2 separate regions of the Homo sapiens genome follow, and region 1 is linked to region 2. Evidence: promoter capture Hi-C in 16 types of primary human blood cells and fetal thymus (Javierre and others, 2016). All regions are on one chromosome and are shown on one strand. The core of a region is centred on a gene start or on the middle of the fragment in contact, and the rest is flanking DNA. Distances in the headings are between cores, read along the strand shown.

Evidence for each region. Contacts are between HindIII fragments. The CHiCAGO score rates a contact against its expected background, and 5 or more counts as called.
Region 1: a fragment that was not itself captured here is called in contact with the fragment with the promoter of RSC1A1 in region 2 in 2 of 17 cell types (M1 macrophages and M2 macrophages); the score reaches 5.3 in M1 macrophages.

What each region holds. Positions count from the first base shown.
Region 1 is chr1:15,717,195-15,720,272 of GRCh38, reverse strand. PLEKHM2 (pleckstrin homology and RUN domain containing M2) reads right to left here. Exons shown (of 20, transcript NM_015164.4): 4 at 2,281-2,380; 5 at 1,648-1,735; 6 at 353-539. Among named protein-coding and RNA genes, the nearest start is that of SLC25A34, 18 kb to the left of the region's middle. The HindIII fragment of the contact is 5,509 bases long and covers 1-3,078 here.
Region 2 is chr1:15,657,834-15,661,133 of GRCh38, reverse strand. RSC1A1 (regulator of solute carriers 1) reads right to left here and starts at 1,421. Exons shown (of 1, transcript NM_006511.3): 1 at 1-1,421. The coding sequence starts at 1,265. It overlaps DDI2 (DDI proteasomal shuttling factor 2), which reads right to left. Exons shown (of 10, transcript NM_032341.5): 10 at 1-1,297. The HindIII fragment of the contact is 1,265 bases long and covers 721-1,985 here.

The sequences.
Region 1 (3,078 bases), core at 335-2,834, 59 kb before region 2:
ACACTCAACCCTGCGACAAGGTTTCCAGGTCCCACTGCTAAACCTTCCTTGCTTAGAAAACTGCCACAGGCATGTGACTAGAACCTTCTGGAAAAGGGTCTAACCTTAAAAAATATATATTTTATATATATATATATATATATAATTTCAGCTTTTTGTGCCCAGAATCCACTTTTTAGCCACCACAGGGACTCTGAGGAGATGAAGATCTGGGAAATGGCCAGCCCTGTTTAATTGCAAATTTCAGCCACCAGACCAAAACTAGCCAAGGAAGACATCACCCAGCCAGGCTTAAGCAGTTCAAGTCTGTTTCACAACAGGGGCTTAGCTTTTCTGCCCTGGGGCCACTCACCCTCACTAGATGGGGCAATCGCACTGTCATCCCACTCCAGGTTGGTGGAGGTGACGGAGTTGAAAGAGTTGAGGGACAGACTGTCTGAGCCGTGGACCGAGCTGGGAAGGCGGTCTTCAAAGTCCAGCAGGTACTGAGGTTTGTAGTAGTCGGGCATGTAGGGGGCCAGGTCTAGGTAAGGGGCATCCTGAGGAGAGAGTAGAGGAGGCCCGTTTGGTGGGAGGCCTCGTGCAGCGGCCTTCTGCAGACAGCAGGATCCAGGCCTGGGAGACACAGATGTGCCTCTTTGGGAAATCAATGGCTTAAGGTAGTAAATTCAAAGAAAAGCTGCTAAGAAGAGCAATGTGAATAGTGTTGGCTTTTAAAGCTGTGGACTTCAGGCTGATGGAAGACAGAGCTGTCAGAACTCAGCTACACCCTTTGATGCCCCCGCTATCTCTCTCTCTCTCTATTTATTTATTTTTTTTTTTGAGACAGAGTCTCACTCTGTTGCCCTGGCTGGAGTGCAATGACGTGGCTCGGCTCACTGCAACTTCCACCTCCCGGGTTCGAGCGATTCTCCTGCCTCAGCCTCCCAAGTAGCTGAGATTATAGGCGCCCATCACCACACCCCGCTAACTTTTGTATTTTTTTAGTAGAGACGAGGTTTCGCCATGTTGGCCAGGCTGGTCTCGAACTCCTGACCTCAGGTGATCCACCCACCTCAGCCTCCCAAAGTGCTGGGATTATAGGTGTGAGCCACTGCGCCTGGCCCAAGGAAGGTCATTTGATTAGGACGGGGCAGCTGCATCCATTTTGAGCCCAGTCCAAGAGGTGCCTGGGAGCCTCTTTGGCTCTATGTGGGCCAGCATCCCATTTGTACAGGGTGTGATGGGGAGAGAAACTTGAGAACTTGAAGAGGGTGGCTGAAGGCTCTTCATGGAGCTGATGACACTTTTCAGAACCCCAGAAGCACCAGGCTGAAACTGCCTTGTCCTTCTAACTCTTCACATCCTAAACATGAAGGCCAGTTCTTCTGGGCTAAGATACTCCAGGCAATGTGGCTTTTCTCCAAGTTGGATAGGGAGATAGGAAAAAGTCACCTGAACCAGGAATTCTTGCCATCACTTCTCTTCTCACTCAATTCGATGGACCCTGAAACCTTTCCCTCGCCCAAAAAAACAAGTTTTGCTCAAGCCCAGTCATACTCAACAAGCTCCCTCAACAAGACCTGAGAAATGAAGCCACCGCCCACCCTGCCCCCACCCTGCCCCCTCCTCTGCTTCCCACAAGCAGTGAGAGCCCTGGTGTCTCACCAGATCCAGCTCGAAACGAATGAACTCTAGCCCGGACACCAAGGTCAGGAAGAGCGTCAGGTGATCGTGGCTGCAGACCAGGGCATTCCTGCAAGACATGAGAAGCCACGATGGTGCCTCTGGGTCTGTTTACCAGCCTGGCCTAACCTTACCAACATACCAGCTGTGTTGAAATCTGACACGTGATGTCCTCCACCTTGGACGGCACCCAGCTTGATATAGCTGTTGCCCACCACCCTCTCAGCGATCTCCTACTGGGTTAGCAGCCACACTGCACTGTCCTGCCAGTGTCTTCAGAGATGGACGAGCACAAGGCTTGTCAGGCTCTCAGCAGCTGCTGTACACACTCTGTTCCTGCAGCAACCCCAGCAAAGGCTGAGCCAAAGCATGGGCACTGGTCAGGTCTGAAGCCTGGGAGGAGGACCAGGGAGCAGCAGAGACCCAGACTGTACCCAGGAGCCCAGATGGGACACCGGTGCTCCTGGTGAAGGCTACCCAGCTACTGGCAAGGTTCTAATGGCTCTCTGGCATCACTGATGTGGCACACTGTGCTGTCTGCATGACAAGAGCCTTTGGGAGGTAGCTGAAAGGGAGCTCTGAGGCTAGGGGAGACAGACCGTCCCAGACACTCACTTGACGTAGTACTTATGCAGCAGGCCCAGGTTCTCCTGGAACAACCGCAGGTAGCTCTCCAAGGAGTTCTCGTTGAGGGCCAGGTACAGCCAGGCACGGCCTGCAAACAAAGGCAGGAGTAACCGGCAGGAAGGCCTCTCAGACTGCTGGCTTTTATTTGCCAAGCAAGCGCAGAAAGGAAAGAAAGAGCAGGTAATGGGACCAGGCACTTCAGTGGCCTTTGTGCTTGGTGGGGTACCATAACCCCTGAGTGCTTTATTTTCCTAGTCAGACCTCAGCATGTAGCTGGCCAGGAAATTCTGATAAAGAGGGCAGACTGCACACTTCAGACAGGTCAAGAAACGCCAGGACTCTGCACTGATCCTGTAGGCTAACAGTGATCCCAGCTCAGGGAGAGAAACCAGACTCCATAGCACGTGCTCAGGCTGGGATTCCATAAGAGTCCAGCTCTCGCTGGCAGCTCGCCCTCTTTCTCCCCATCACTGCTGTGCCAAAAAACCATCATATGTGGGGAGAAAAGAGGCCTCATGGAGGGGGCTGGCATTTTATAAATTTATTATTTATTACTATTATTTTATTTTTTGAGACAGAGACTCTGTCACCCAGGCTGGAGTATAGTGGTGTGATCACAGCTCAATACAGCCTTAAATTCCTGGGCTCAAGGGATCCTCCTGCCTTACCCTCCCAAAGTGTTGGAATTACAGGCATGAGCCACTGTGCCCGGCCATTTTCCTAAATCTTTAGAGATGGGGTCTCACTCTTTCTTCCAGGCTGGAGTGCAATGCTGTGGTCATGCCT
Region 2 (3,300 bases), core at 172-2,671:
ACAGATATGGCCTGATGAAAGGAGACTTGTGGACACTGTTCATTCTGGGTAAGATGCTCATTTTGGGTCCATCTTTCAGAAAGGTCTTTAATACTGGTTTGGCCCTCAGCTATGGTTTCTGATTGACAGATTACTTCTTCAGATGTATTTTCTGAAGCTGGTTTACTGCTAACAACCAAAAGTTCATGAAGTTCTTTCAAGGCTGCCGTTATAGACGGGCAAGATTCTTCTGCTGACTCCACAGAAGGCTGACAACTGCCACAGAGACTTGGAGAGGAGTAATGGCCATATTCTTTATTTGTTCCAGGTATTTCAACATTAGTTTCTGGGGGCTGTAAATCCTGAGTGGAAATGGAATCATTCAAAATTTCAGATGAAGGGTTACATTTTGATGTTTCTACTTCCATCAAGGGATTATCTAAAGTGAGATCCAATGCACCAATGTTCTTGACATTGGCATTCTGCCTGCCTGTTGAATTAAGCAAAGTAACTAGGGACTGTTGAGCTGTATCGATTTCCATAAATGTTTCTGAATTTGAGCAGCCACTGCATTCTGAAGATGGAATACTTTTCTTCGCACTTGGAGGATCCACATTCTGTGGGAGCCCATTTCCTTTCATCGTAGCTTCCAAATCAACAATTTTGTGTTGATTCTGTTGCCTTTCTTCAGGAAGCTCAAGGTCCCCTATGTTACAAAGATATTCTTGGTCATGTGAAGCTTTTTGTTGTGCAACCTCATACTGTTCATTCCCTGGTTCTTCGTGCTGCTGAGGGTCACTCACTTGACTCAGGTTCTGATTTTCTGGATGCCAATCCTTTTCACCTAGAAACATCTGTGGTTCATGCATCCTAGTAGATGTGACAGATAAACTAGCTTCCTGTCTTGTATGGAGATGAAATTTGAGGCCCTGGGTGCTTCTTTCAGCAGATTTCTCCAGATTACCTGCAACAGTTATTTCTTCGGATGAATTCTGCATAGGCATAGCTGGACTCTGGTCTGTTGGAGCATGGTCTGCTGAGGAAGCATGATCAGAAAGATCTTGTAAAGAAAGATGTTCTTTCTTTTCAGAGTTTAGCTGGAATTCAGCTGAAGCCTTCAAAGCCTTCACAGCTTTAGGTTCAATGCGATCTGAGTCACTGGGCTTGATAGGGCAGACTGAAGCAGAGACAGAGCGAGCAAGACTCATAGGATTACCAACATCAGGACTCTGTCCTGAAGAACGGGCGGGATGGTTAAACCCATCTGAAGTTGGTAATGATGACATTCCCAGTGAGGTAGATTCTTTACCACTTTTCTCTATATGGAACACAGGGGAAAGGAAAAAGATTAATTAGCAGGTGACTAATGCCACTAAATTACCAGAGGATACAAATCTAAACAGCGTAGAATAAAATAAGGTCCTCAAACTCGGGTTTCTCTTACACAAATAGAAATGATTTTAAAATTACTTTCTCATTGTGGTAGACATTCACAGCATCAGAATAAGAGGTAGACATGTTCTTAATAAAATCTGCATACTGTAATTCAATGTGATTAAGTATCCATTAATATGCATTCACATAATGGCGGGGTTAGTGCTCAGGAATGAAGGACATTTATGTTTCTTTATTCCCTAGTCTAGTCTACAACTCTAGAATAGTTTCTCCAAGTGTACTTTTTTCACCACTTGCCCTAAAACCACCAGGGACGCTTGTGAAGTATGCAGACCCTGGGGTACCATACTTGAGAGTAAATCCAGGAATGTGCATTTTCAATAAGCTCCTTGGGTGATTCTTAAGGATATTACAAATCCTGAGAATCTTTGCACCAGAATGATTCTCATGTTAATGCACTTTTCTTGTTTCAAATGTGAACACTGAGGTTACAAATGAGAAGTCTTAAACCAGGTATACCTGGACAGAGAGGGAATTATAAAGAGAAATAAGAAATAACATAATGCTTGGGGACAGAGAAGCAAATGTTCTATTTTATTTCTAGCCAAGCTTTCCAAAAATCATGGTAAAACTGGGTGAGCATCTGACTCAGAAAACAAAAGTAAACTAATGATCAGCAGATTAAATCACAATCATCATCCTACCAAATAATACAACTCTAAACTTAAAAGGCTTATAAGTTTTTATCACATCAATAGTGTGCAACTAAGTTAAGAATATTTAAATGTTTTAAAGAAAGGGGAATGTGGAGGGAGATGGTTCATTAATAGTTTTTCAACTGGCAATGACTATTTAGATTCACTGCTACCTTAGACCACCCAAACAAGACGGCTCAGTGTAAGCATCATAGTATCATTAAACATCATTTCCAGCTCTTCTTTTGCCACCAATCCAGTTAAAAATTGACCTCTACGCATGTAAGTGTAAGAATTTTTTTTTTTTTTTAAGACTGTGTTTTGCTCTTGTTGCCCAGACAGGAGTACAATGGCGCCATCTGAGCTCACCGCAACCTCCGCCTCCCGGGTCCAAGCGATTCTCCTGCCTCAGAGTAGCTGGGATTACATGCATGCGCCACACACCCGACTAATTTTGCATTTTTAGTAGAGATGAGGTTTCTCCACGTTGGTCAGGGTGGTCTCAAACTCTTGACCTCAGGTGATCCGCCCGCCTCAGCCTCCCAAAGTGCTTGGATTACAGGCAAGAGCCACCGCACCCGACCATTGTAAGATCTTTAATTAAAAATCAAAAAGGGCTGGGCACAGTGGCTCATGCCTGTAATCCCAGCACTTTGGGAGGCCGAGGCAGGTGGATCACCTGAGGTCAGGAGTTCGAGACCAGCCTGGCCAACGTGGTGAAACCTCATCTCTACTAAAAATACAAAAATTAGCCAGGCGTGGTGGTGGGTGCCTGTAATCCCAGCTACTAGGTAGGCTGAGGTGGGAGAATTGCTTGAACCCAGGAGGGAGAGGTTGCAGTGAGCCAAGACTGCACCACTGCACTCCAGCCTGGGTGACAGAGTGAAACTCAGTCAAAATAAAAAATAATAATAATAAAAAATAAAAATCAAAAGGTCAGTAACAAAAATGACTTCAAAATACAATCTATTATTAGGACAGATGCAACTCAAATGCTCAGTACTAAATGTTAACATCCAACAAGAGGGCTTGATCTTAAAAAGCAGCAAAGCAGTTATATTCAAAAGGCTTTAAATCATTCTAATAAACTACTGGTTAACAGCATGAGAAGACAAAGCATTGTTTCAGGAAGCTATTGACTTCCCATGAAACAATCTTACCTTACTTACACTTTAGGAGTAAAAAGGAAAACTGCACTTATCTCAGTTTAGGCTATACCCATTAGAGTCTA